2 separate regions of the Homo sapiens genome follow, and region 1 is linked to region 2. Evidence: promoter capture Hi-C in 16 types of primary human blood cells and fetal thymus (Javierre and others, 2016). All regions are on one chromosome and are shown on one strand. Each heading gives the region's core, a stretch centred on a gene start or on the middle of the fragment in contact. The rest is flanking DNA. Distances are from core to core; before and after follow the strand shown. Region 1 overlaps LOC105377277 (a long non-coding RNA gene). Region 2 holds the start of CXCL3 (C-X-C motif chemokine ligand 3).

Region 1 (6,584 bases), core at 1,019-3,518, 94 kb after region 2:
ATCAGCAACTTCAGCAAAGTCTCAGGATACAAAATCAATGTGCGAAAATCACAAGCATTCCTATACACCAATAATAGACAAACAGAGAACTAAATCCTGAGTGAACTCCCATTCACAATTGCTACAAAAAGAATAAAATACCTAGGAATACAACTTACAAGGGATGTGAAGGACCCTTCAAGAAGAACTACAAACCGCTGCTCAAGGAAATGAGAGGACACAAACAAATGGAAAAACATTCTATGCTCATTGATAGGAAGAATCAATATTGTGAAAAAGGCCATACTGCCCAAAGTAATTTATAGATTCAATGCTATCCCATCAAGCTACCATTGACTTTCTTCACAGAATTAGAAAAAGCTACTTTAAATTTCATGTGGAAACAAAAAAGAGCCCATATAGCCCAGACAATCCTAAACAAACAGAAAAATGCTGCAAGCATCATGCTACCTGACTTCAAACTATATTACAAGTCCACAGTAATCAAAACAGCATGGTACTGGTAACAAAATAGATATACAGACCAATGGAACAGAACATAGGCCTCAGAAATAACACCACTCATCTACAACCATCTGATCTTTGACAAACGATAAAAATAAGCAATAGGGAAAGGATTCCTTATTTAATAAGTGGTGTTAGGAAAACTGGCTAGCCATATGCAGAAAACTGAAACTGGACCCCTTCCTCACACCTTAAACAAAAATTAACTCAAGATGGATTAAATACTTAAACATAAGGCCTAAAGCTATAAATGCCCAAGAAGAAAACCTAGGCAGTACCATTCAGGACACAGGCATGGGCAAAGTCTTCATGACTAAAACACCAAAAGCAATGGCAGCAAAAGCCAAAATTGACAAATGGGATCTAATTAACCTAAGGAGCTTCTGCACAGCAAAAGAAACTATCATCAGAGTGAACAGGCAACCTATAGAATGAGAGAAAAATTTTGCAATCTATCCATCTGACAAAGGGCTAATATCCAGGATCTACAAAGAACTTAAACAAATTTACAAGAAAAACAAACAAACATGCCCATCAAAAAGTGGGTGAAGGATGTGAACAGACACTTCTTAAAAGAAGACATTTATGCGGCCAAAAAAACATATATAAAAAGAAAGCTCATTATCACTGGTCATTAGAGAAATGCAAATCAAAACCACAATGAGATACCATCTCACACTAGTTAGAATGGCAATCATTAAAAAGTCAGGAAACAACAGATACTGAAGAGGAAGTGGAGAAATAGGGATGCTTTTATATTGTTGGTGGGAGAATAAATTAGTTCAGCCATTATGGAAGACAATGTAGCGATTCCTCAAGGATCTAGAACCAGAAATACCATTTGACCAGCAATCTCATTACTGGATATATACCCAAAGGATTATAAATCATTCTACTATAATCACACATGCACAGGTATGTTTCTTGCAGCACTATAGCAATAGCAAAGATGTCAAACCAACCCAAATACCCATCAATGATAGATTGGATAAAGAAAATGTGGCACATATACACCATGGAATACTATGCAGCCATAAAAAAGGATGAGTTCACATCCTTTGCAGAGACATGGGTGAAGCTAGAAACCATCATTCTCAGCAAACTAACACAAGAACAGAAAACCAAACACCACATGTTCTCACTCATAAGTGGGAGTTGAACAATGAGAACACATGGACACAGGGAGGGGAACATCACACACCAGGGCCTGTCAGAGGGTGGGGCGCTAAGGGAGGGACACCATTAGGAGAAGTACCTAATGTAGATGACGGGTTGATGGGTGCAGCAAACCACCATAGCACATGTATACCTATGTAACAAACCTGCACATTCTGCACATGTATCTCAGAACTTAAAGTATAATAATAATGAAAAAAATGCTCTACACTTTAACTCCACACCTCCCACAAACACTTTGAATTTTTATTATATCAGTTCGCATATTTTAAAAATATCTATTTTGAACAGGTTGTTGTCGCTATTATTGTTTTTGATAGATTTGTCTTTATAAGCTTCTTACTAGAGTTATGATTGGATTGCACACCACAATTAAATTATTAGCATATTCTGGGGTTGTGTTCATACTTAATTTTACCAGTGGGTTTTATACCTTGAAATATTTTCTTTTAGTTAGTACACTAATATGTTAGCATTTTTTAATTTCAGGTTGAAGAATTCCCTTTAGCATTTCTTGCAAGACGGGTCTAGTAGTGGTGAATTCTCTTAGCTTTTGTCTGTGAAAGACAATTTCTCTTTGTTAATGCTGCCCTATTTCCTTCTGGCCTACATGGTTTCCATTGTGAAGTCTGTTGCCAGATGAACTGGAGTTGCTTTGTTATTTTACTCTTTTGCTGCTTTCTGGATCTTCTCTTTGTCTTTGATATTTGAAAGTTCAATTATTATATGCCTTGGTTAGTGTTACTTGGGTTGAATCTGTTTGGTGTTCCCTGACCTTTCTATATCTAGATATTTCTGTCTTTCATGAGTTTTGGAAAGTGCTCTGTTATTATTTCTTAGGATAAGCTTTTCTCCCCTTGCTCTTGCTCAGCTCCCCCTTAAACACCAATAATTTTTAGATTTGGTCTTTTGAGGTAATTTTCTATATTTTAAAGGTGGCCTTCATTTCTTTTTATTGTTTTTTTCTTTTCTTTCTTTGGACTGTATTTTCTTAATAGCCAGTCTTTGAGCTCACTGATTCTTTTCTCTAACCCATTCTGTTATTGAGATCCTCTAAAGAGTGTTTCAATTCAGCAAATGTGGTTCTCCGTTCCAAGATTTCTGTTTCATTTTTAAATTATTATTTCAATTTTCTTGTTAAATTTCTCTGATAAGTATCTGAATTGTTTTTCTATGTTATCTTGTAGGTCACTGAGTTTCCTTAAAATTGCTATTTTGAATTCTTAGTTATAAAGTTCACATATCGGTTTTCTAATCCCAAAATGGCAGCATAGAAGCAAGCTTGCTTCTCTCCCCTCCACCAGAAACCAAAAAGAAATACACAGCAGCAAGATCTTCACCAGCAGCAACCCAGAGATCCTGTATGAGGATGAGACAGTTCCTGTAGGTACAGAGAAGTGGAAACATTCTGAGCAGATGGTAGGAGAACCAGATTCTACATCCATGAGGCCTCTTCCCTGCATTACACCAGGCATCAGCAGTATGAAAAATCTGCCCTCAACTCATGGTTTCTGCACTGAAAAACGTGAAATTGAGATTGTCAACCAGCTTTCCCATCTTCTTCGGTTTCCTGCCAGGAGACCTGCCTTTGCCTTAAACCACAGGTAGCACTGTGACTGCCTGGAGGGAGAAATGTCTGTGAAGGCTGGCAAAGACAAATAGGGAAGCCAGGACTACCATCCTCAGCCGTAAAAACTCCTTGTAACTTGACCAAAGGAGATGCCAAATCAGTAGAAATCATGTAGCAAGTATGTTCCACAAGTCCCCTGGGAACACACCCGTGGCCGGCCTTCCCACAGTGCTAGGGTAATCCCTTTGGTCCTCCTCCTTATGGGACAGGCAGTGCCATGGCCATTTGCAAAAGTCAAGGTAAACATAGGCTTATGGCGCCATCTAGAGCCGAAAACAAGGCAGCAAGCTGGCAGTTAAGATTCATAAGCAACTGTATTCAATAAAAACCAAACCAAACTAGACAGATAAAGCTGGACTAAATAATTATTAATACAAATACATAGATGTATACCCACAAGAAACAACAGCAAACATGGAACCATAACCTTCTAGACAAAGCAAAGTTCCAGCGACTGACCCTCCTGAGATGGCGATTTGTGAACTCTCTGACCAAGAATTCAAAACAGCTGTTTTAAGGAAACTTTGTTATCTCTAAGATAACACAGAAAAGCAACTCAGATATTTATCAGAGAAATTTAACAAGGAAATTGAAATAATGATAAGCAGAAATCTTGTAACTAAGAACTACATTTGCTGAACTAAGAAACTCTTCAGGGGATCTCAACCACAGAATAGGTCAAGCAGAGAAGAGAATCAATGAGCTCAAAGACTGGCTGTTAAAAAATAAACAGAGGAGAGAAAAGAAAAAAAGAATGAAAATGAGAGAAGGCCACTTACAAGATATAGAAAATTACCTCAAAGACAAAATCTAAAAATTATTGATGTTCAAGAGAGAGCAGAGCAGGAGCAAGGGTAGAAAGCTTATTCAAAGAAATAATAAGAGAATACTTTCCAAAACATGAGAAAGATATAAATATTCAGGTACAGGAAGGCCTTAGAGCATCACATTAGTCAAATAAGACTAATGAAGGTATTTACTAATCAAACTGTCAAAGATCAAGCATAAAGATAAAACTGTAATGGCAGCAAGAGAAAAGAAGCAAGCAGCATATAAAGGAGCTCCAAATCATCTTTAGCCAGAATAAGAAAAAAAGAGAGAAGACCCAAATAAATAAAAGTAGGAACAAAAATGGACACATGACAACTGAGACCTCAGAAATACTAAGAATCATTAGAAACAATTAGGAACCATTACATGCCAACAAATTGGAAAATATAGAAGAAATGGATAAATTCCTGGACACATGCAACCTACCAATATTGAACCATCAACAAATAGAAAACCTCAATAAGCCAATAATGAGTTATGAAATCAAAGCCATAATAAAAAGTCTCCCATCAAAGAAAAGCTCACGGCCTGATAACTTCACTGCTAAGTTCTACCAAACATTTAAAGAACTAATACCAATTCTATTCAAATACTTCAAAACGATTAAAGAGGAGAGAGGGAATACTTTCAAACTCATTCTACAAGGCCAGTGTTACTGTGATACCAAAACCAGACAAGGACACATTTTTTTTTTAAAGAAGCTAGAGGCCAATATCACCAGTGAACACAGATGTAAAAATCTTCAGCAAAATACTCATTTACCATTGTCAAGTAGAATTCATTCCAGAGATACAGGATGGTTCAACATATGCAAATCAATACATGTTATACACGACATTAACAGAATCGAGAATGAGAATCATATAATTATTTCAATAGATGCCATAAAGGTAAAGGCATTTGATAAAATTCAACATTCCTTTATGATAAAAATCCTCAACAAACTGGGCATAGAAGAAACATACCTGAAAATAATAAAAGCCATCTATGACAAACCCATAGCTAACAACACACTTAACAAGGAAAAATTGAAGGCCTTTCCTCTAAAGGCTAGACCAAGATAAGAATGCCCACTTTCACTATTATTTTGCTGTTATTCAATATAATACTGGAAGTCCTGGCCAGAGCAATTAGGTAAGAAAAAGAAATGAAGGAAAACCAAATTGGAAAGGTAGAAGTCAAATTAGCTTTGTTCATCTTATATGCAGAAAAACCTAAAGACTCTACCAAAAAAAACTGTTATAACTCATACAGGAATTTAGTAAAGTTGTAGGATACAAAATCAATGTACAAAAATTAGTAGTGTTTCTACACACCAAGACTGATCTAGCCAAAAATGAAGTCAAGAAGGCAATCTCATTTAAAACTACAAAGAATATGCAATACCTGGGAATCAATTGAAACCAAAGATGTGAAAGACCTACACAAGAAAAACTATAAAACTCTGGTGAAAGAAATAGAAGAAAGCACCAAAAAATTGGAAAAATATTCTCCGCTCATGGATTGGAAGACTTAATATTGTTAATATGACAATACTACCCCAAACAATTTCCAGACTCACTGCAATCCCCATCAAAATTCCAATGACATTCTTCACAGAAATGTTTTAAAAATCTGAAATTCATATGGAACTGCAAAAGATCCTAAATAGCCAAAGCAATCCTGAACAAAAAGAACAAAGCTGTATACATCACACTACCTGACTTCAAATCTATTACAAAGCTATAGTAACCAAAACAGTATGGTACTGGCATAAAAACAGACAGATAAATAAAACAGAATAATAATCTGGAAATAAATCCATGCATTTGCAGCCAATTCATCTTCAGCAAAGGCATTAAGAGCCTAAAATGGGGAAAGGTCAGCCTTTTCAATAGGTGGTGCTGAGAAAATTGGATAACTATATGCAGAAGAAAGAAACTAGACCCCTATCTCTCACCATACACAAAAATTAAATCAAAATGAATTAAAGACTTGAATCTAAGACCTAAAACCATGAACTACTAGAATAAAACTCTGAGGAAATACTTCAGGACAATGATCTGGACAAAGATTTCTTGTGTAACCTCTAAAGCACAGGCAACCAAAGCAAAAATAGACAATTGGGATTACATCAAACTATAAAACTTTTGAATAGCAAAGGAAACAATCAACAGAGTGAAGAAACAACCCAGAATGGGAAAAAACAATTGCAAGCTATTTATCTGACAAGGGATTAATAACTAGAGTATATAGAAATCTCAAACAATTCAATAGGAAAAAAATGTAAACCTTAATTTAAAAATGGACAACATGTCTGAATAGACACCTCTCAAAAGGAAATATACAAATGACTAACAGCTATATTAAAGTAATGCTCAACAGTACTATATATCAGAGAAATGCAAATTAAAACCACAATGAGATATCATCCCATCCCAGTTAAAATGGCTTGTATCAAAAA
Region 2 (6,639 bases), core at 3,540-6,039:
GTTCAACTAAGACAGTTACAAATCATCCTAAAAAACTTTGATGATCAGAAAAGGTCTTCTGTAATGTTTTAACATTTTGAAATGTATTGATACATTTTTTATGACTCATCTATGTTCTCTTTGGAAAGACAAATGTGATTTATGCAATTGCTGGGTAAATTGCCAATATATGTCAGTCAAACCAAGTTGGTTGCTTATGTTGCTTAACACTTCTATACTGCTACTAAATTTGTGCTGCTTTACATATTAAGTGTTGAAAGAGTTTGTTAGAATCTGTAACTATGATTATATATCTGTCTATTGCTCTTTTTTGATCTCTTCATTTTGCTTTATGTGTGTGTGTGAATTTTTTTTTTCTTTAGAGACAAGGCCTTGCTCTGTCACCCAGGCTGCAGTGCGGTGGCATGATCATAGCTCACTGCAGCTTCAGACTCATGGGCTCAGTTGATTCTCCCACCTCAGCCTCACAAATAGTTTATATAATTTGATAATGTGTTTCTAAGTTCATAAAAGCTTAGGAATGTTTTGTCTCTTGTTTAGTTAACCCCTTTTTATTTTTAACAGTCTTTTTTATCTCCAAGACTATTTCTTTCCTTAAGGCATAATATATTAATTAGGCCTTCATTAGTATATCAATTTTTAATAAATATAATTTATATGAATAGCATATTAATAGTTAAGTAATAAATATATTAATATATCCAGGTCAGGTTTCAATATAGTAATATATCCATGTCAGCCCATTTGTATGTGATATAACACTATTAATTCTTTTAATTTCAAGCAACCTGGTGCCCAATTTGTTTTTACTTTTATTGTATTTTTATAATTGACACATAATTACTGTGCATATTGATGGGGTACATAGTAATGTTTCTATATATAATGTATAGTGAAGAGATCAGGGTAATTAGCATATCCGTCATTTCAAATATTTATCATTTATTTGTGTGGGAACATTTGATATCCTTCTAGCTGTTTGAAACTATTACTTTTAACTATAGGCATCCTACAGTGGTATAAAACACTAGAATTTGTTCCTCCTATCTAGATATAATTTAAAGTGTGTCTCTTTTAAGAAGCATAAACATGTCATATTTATGTAGTCTGATAATCTTTGACTTTTAATTGGAGTGTTTATTCTGCTTAAATTTACTATAATTCTTAATATAGTTGTATCTAAGTCTACTATCTGCTATTATATTTGTCCTATCTTTTGAAAAATAAACTTTTAAATTTGGAATAATTTTAGACTCACAAAAAATTTGTGTGGGCACAGAGAGTTTCTATATCTGACCTTTAGCTCAGTGTCCCGTAATGTTGACATCTTACATACTTGTAGTATATTTGACAAAACTAAGAAATTAACATTGGTACATTGCTGTTAACTAAACTCTTGTCTTTATTCAGATTTCATCAATTTTCCAATAATGTCCTTTTTTCTATTCCAGGATCCAATTCAACATACCACATTGTATTTAGTCCCCATATCACTTTTGTCTCCTTTAATCTGTGACAATTTATTGATTTTGTCTTGTTTTTCATGACCTTGACAGGTTGAAGAGTACTTATGAGGAGTTTTGTAAAACGTCCATCAGTTTTACCACCATAAAAATCAGTTCAGATTTTTATGATGTCCTTGTTGTGATTATACAAAGGTTATGCATTTTCTGGAAGAATATAAATGGAGTGGAAGTGTCCTTCCATCACATTATATGAGGGGGTGCGTAATATTCACATGCCATAATTGGTGACAGTAACCTTGATCACTTGGTTAAGATTGTCTGCCAAATTTCTCCACTGTAATTTTTTTTTCCTTTTTCTTAGTCTTTTCTTTGGAAGCCAGTCACTAAGTCTAGCTACACGCACCTGGAGAGGGGAATTAAGCTTCACCTTCGGGAAGGAGGAGACTATACTCATATTATCAGCAATTCTTCTGTAAAGATGTGTCTCTTCTGCCTTTGATCCATGTGTTGGTTTATTCCTCCATTTCTGTCTTCTTTTGTATTAGTCGGGTATTTTCTATTACACTATTTTATGTCCTTTTTAGATTAAGTCCAAAATTTTGCATTTTCCTTTTAGTTGTTGCCCTACAAATTACAACATTTGTTCTTGCTACAATTTTTTTCTTAATACTTTCTCTAACAATTGAAGAGATATGTTATAGTCTAAACCCACTTATCTCCCAACCTGTCTTTTGTGCTATTTTTGTCATATATTTTACATTACAGTATCTCAATAGGTCATTTTTTTTAATATCACAATTCTTTTTAGTTCTAAGGCAGAATCAACTTTTCTACCTTTTGCTCCCAACCTTGTTAAACGGGAAAGAATTGCATAAGTATTTGAGAAACCGTTTACCAAAAGCATCTAGCAGATCTAGCAGACGCCCATGTTAAAATATCAATAACATTCAAAAATTTGTAAAGAACTAGTTTTGAATAACAAATTGGTCAATGTGAAAAACAGCTAAATGTTATACAAAATTAGAATTATCAAAGTGGTTGGGGGGTAGTATGTACTTTCTAAAAGCATCGGATAGTCCGTTTTGAATAAGAGAAATATAAGGGAAGTGACAGCTAGAAGCAGGCACAGATTTAGATAGAACCTGCAGCCTAACTGTATAACACCTTGGGTGCCTGGGAAGAACTAAAAGTCAAGAAGAATTTTTTGAAAAACCACATAAGCCTTTTTTTTCATAAAACTTTTATTATCATGTCATTTGTACAAATGTAACAGTAATGATAAATTCTCTTTTCCAAGGGAAAGAGAAACGCTGCAGAATGGACATTAAACAAGGCATTATGCCCTACAAGCAAGACATAAAATGTCTAAGGGAAACTTCAGCATAAAAATGTTGAACACATAATGTGAGATAATTTGAATAAATAACAACTGACATTCTTTTTTTAAAAAAAAAGTATAAAAAATAGATGTGTACATACATTCCCTTACCCTAACAGTGATCCACTAATTGCTTGCATTTCAATCCCCCCACCCTCCAGTTCCCCACCCTGTCATTTATCAAGGTGGCTGACACATTATGGTCTCCCACTAAATATTAGTTTAATGACACATTTAAAACCCATCATATTCCAATTAAATAATCAGGACTGAGCTATGTTTGATGAAACACACTCACATCTTTAAATAACAGCATGTAAAATATTAAAATACAAGCTTTCAAAAATAAATACATAAATAAGTAGAACCCTCGTAAGAAATAGTCAAACACATTAAGTCCTTTCCAGCTGTCCCTAGAAAGCTGCTGTTCTCTTTTTCATTTTCAGCTCTGGTAAGGGCAGGGACCACCCTGCAGGAAGTGTCAATGATACGCTGATAAGCTTCTTACTTCTCTCCTGTCAGTTGGTGCTCCCCCTGTGATGAGAAAAGGGTTACTGTTGCAGGTGCTAAGGAAGGCTGCTCTTCTGTCACTCTGAAGTTGCTTGGAGGGATGTCCCCATGCAGACTCTCTCCCAGCCCTCCACTCAGGGAAGGTCTGTCTGTACCCACTGCCTTCTATAGCAGAAAACTTGCACTCCTGAATGCTTTTTTTTTTTTTTTCAAGAAAGAAGTGGCTGTGGACTCAACTAGATTCTTGGTTTGAAAAAGCCAAAACATATTGGTCACTGATTGTCACATTGGGTTAGAAATGTCCATTCATGATCTCCCTTAAGCTGCACACAACCCTATGAAATAACTACCATTATCTACCCTATTTTGCTAAAGCTCAAAGAGATTAAATAACGTTGACAGGGATCCTAGCCTTGAACTCACTGAAGGTGTTACTGCAAAGTTTCTGCTCTTCACCAAGAAGGCTTACAGGCCCAAAGTGCCCAAACCAGACATTGCATTTTTCAGGTCTGAAGCCCATTAGGGACTGAGGTAAACGTCCCAAAACAGGCAGGGGGCATTTTGGCATTGTTAGTCAAATTTACTTAGTATTCTAGAAACCCACATTTACCCTCCCAGGGGTTAGGCCTGGAAATGGAAGACACTGAAATACTGAAATATCCTCTGGCACCAGAGCAGATTAATAACCTTAATGGCAACTTTAATTGTGAAAATAATAATCACAATTTCTAGTCCTTCAGCTAACTCTTGGGGTTCCCTGATTTTATTTTTAGGGGGCAGATGCCAGTATTTCTGACCAACGGCTCCAGTCGCCTGTGTATATGGAAATTACAACTCACTTGTTCAGTATCTTTTCGATGATTTTCTGAACCATGGGGGATGCGGGGTTGAGACAAGCTTTCTTCCCATTCTTGAGTGTGGCTCTGCAGAGAGAAGGGAATTCCGTGAGACAGGAGGTCGGGCTGGGGACAGGGTTGGGGCAGCGGGAGAGTCGGGGACCCCAGCGGTGGCAGCGGAAGCGCGGGGCGGGACTTACATGACTTCGGTTTGGGCGCAGTGGGGTCCGGGGGACCTTACATTCACACTTTGGATGTTCTTGAGGTGAATTCCCTGCAGTGTCTGCAAGCACTGGCAGCGCAGTTCAGTGACCACGGACGCTCCTAGGGAAGAATAGACTCGCTGATTGAGCGGGGCTGTCGGCGCGGGGCGCCCACCCCAGCCGCGTCCGGCCCGGGGACCCCAGGGCGCCGGGACCCACCTGCTGCGCGCCGGCTGGCGGCCACCAGGAGCAGGAGCAGCAGCGCCACCCGCAGGAGCCGGGGATTGCTGGGGGCGGCGGAGAGCGTGGCGTGGGCCATGGGGCTCAGCAGACGCGTCGGGAAGCTGTGCGAGAAGCGGGAGAGCTGGCGGGGAGGTGCCTGCGACCCGGGCTGTGTGGCTCCCCAAGATCGGCGAACCCTTTTTATGCATGGTTGAGACTGGAAAGCCCGGAGCGGCCGGGCCAGGGAAATTCCCGGAGCTCCAGATCGATCCGGAGTCCCGAAGGAAGGCGACGGCCCCGCCCCCGGGGTGGAGTCGGATACGGGTAGGGGGAGCCCACTGGTGACGCCTACGCCTCGCCCTCCAGAGTAACCCCCGTGCACTCTGGGACTTTGGGATATTCATTTTCTGCCCCAAATTCCTGGAGAGGCAGTGAGTCCACCTCGCTGAAGATACAGCCTGTGAGGGGGGACCTTAGGTCCCCGATGACCCCCCGCGTACGGGGTAGGGTTGGAGGAAAGAGCTGGGGGGACCCGTGAGAACCAGGACAGGAAAGGCACGACTTCTTTAGAGGAAGAGAGCTTTGTCTCCTTAGTTATCAGATTTGCTGGGGACCCGGAGACAGGCGAGTTTTCCCTCAGCTATCCTCTCTCTATATAGTCTATCCTCTATGTTAACCTCCCGGTCTCTGCCTCTCTCATTTTCGGTTTAGCGTTATTTCATGTACATCTAACATCATGCTCTCTGTGAAAGTACAGCCATCGTCTCGGATTCCAGAGAAGAATGTTCTACTTGTTCCTTGTTTTGCATATTCTCTAATCACACTTAGAATACCTTGTTTACGTTTTCCATTTGGTGGCAACAGATTATCAGTGTCAAAATTTGAATTCAGTGTTAGTGTCCGTGGAAGCCAGGGCTGTATAACATGACCTCTTCTTTTGTATCCTGCATAACGTCCTTCCTCCCTCTGAAATGTTGGAACTTCCTAAATCCCCTGGAGACCTTCTCCCAGTGGGAGGGATTCAGATTTGATCTAGAAATATGACACTGGCTGTCACTCTGAAGCTGTGGAGGGGCTGGGTCCAGCAGGATCATGGGCTCAATGTTTCTGGTTCTGTCTTTGCGAATGACACTAGAGAGTAGGTACCTGGTGTGCAAACACCATTCCCACTGAAGGAGCAAACAGCTGCCTGCTGATGACATTTAAACACCAGATCACACATAAAATCACATTTCATTTACTATAGAATTTTCTGGTATTCAGCACTGGGGGATCTTTCTCTGGAAACATTAACAGGGCACTTTTTTTTCTCGTCTGGATTTTCAGTCTTTTAACCTGACACCTTTGTCCCTTTTTCTAGTTTTAGATAATGTATTTTGATTTGTCATTAGGTTTTAGAGGGTTTAAGTGTGATTCTACAAGTTGGTCTCAGACCTCTTTGAGACGTGGAGTAGGATGGAGGAGAGGAGAAAGGAATGGCATCTGCCTGAAGCACAGGGCTCTACACAACCCAGCTCAAGGGATAAGAGTCCTTGCCCCTAACCAAACACAGAGCGTGCAACTGTGCTGCCTGTATTTAGTTGCAGAGTATCACTTGCAAGTTGTTAAGCCTCTCTGTGCCTAGCCCAAGGTGGTTATGAGAAATGAGTTAACATTTGTAAGAGACAACATGGATTAAGTGCCTTATTAATGGTTGTTAAATAAATAAAATGGACTATTTCCATTTTTAAAAGGCTATTTCTTTCCCGACATTGCCTGAACAAAAACTCAGCCTGCTATGAATTCTGTAAAGGAAAAAAGAAGAATCTAATGGAAAGTTTTACTCCCCAGTGTTTTTCACATTTAAAATTTTCTGTATCCCTTACTGCCACCCAACTCTCCCTGTCTCTAACTGATATAAAGCAGTGTGAGTCCTTAAGAAATCAAAGCACATCCTAGAAAGAAGAATGTTCATATAAACACCACAATCCCAGTTTCCAAAATGGTCTTGTAGTTACTGGTGCTCACGGGTATCTGTGATGTCA

The links. The method cuts DNA at HindIII sites, captures the fragments that hold promoters and counts their contacts. A CHiCAGO score of 5 or more calls a contact.
Region 1: a contact is called between a fragment that was not itself captured here and the fragment with the promoter of CXCL3 in region 2, in 1 of 17 cell types (megakaryocytes). The highest score is 8.1, in megakaryocytes.

What each region holds. Positions count from the first base shown.
Region 1 is chr4:74,130,871-74,137,454 of GRCh38, forward strand. All of the region lies in intron 1 of LOC105377277 (a long non-coding RNA gene), which reads right to left. It also overlaps a transcript of MTHFD2L not described here. Among named protein-coding and RNA genes, the nearest start is that of MTHFD2L, 24 kb to the right of the region's middle. The HindIII fragment of the contact is 511 bases long and covers 2,014-2,524 here.
Region 2 is chr4:74,033,900-74,040,538 of GRCh38, forward strand. CXCL3 (C-X-C motif chemokine ligand 3) reads right to left here and starts at 4,790. Exons shown (of 4, transcript NM_002090.3): 1 at 4,613-4,790; 2 at 4,391-4,514; 3 at 4,194-4,277; 4 at 2,690-3,378. The coding sequence starts at 4,712. The coding sequence ends at 3,363. LOC105377275 (a long non-coding RNA gene) reads left to right here and starts at 5,046. Exons shown (of 2, transcript XR_938875.3): 1 at 5,046-6,639. The HindIII fragment of the contact is 4,426 bases long and covers 4,250-6,639 here.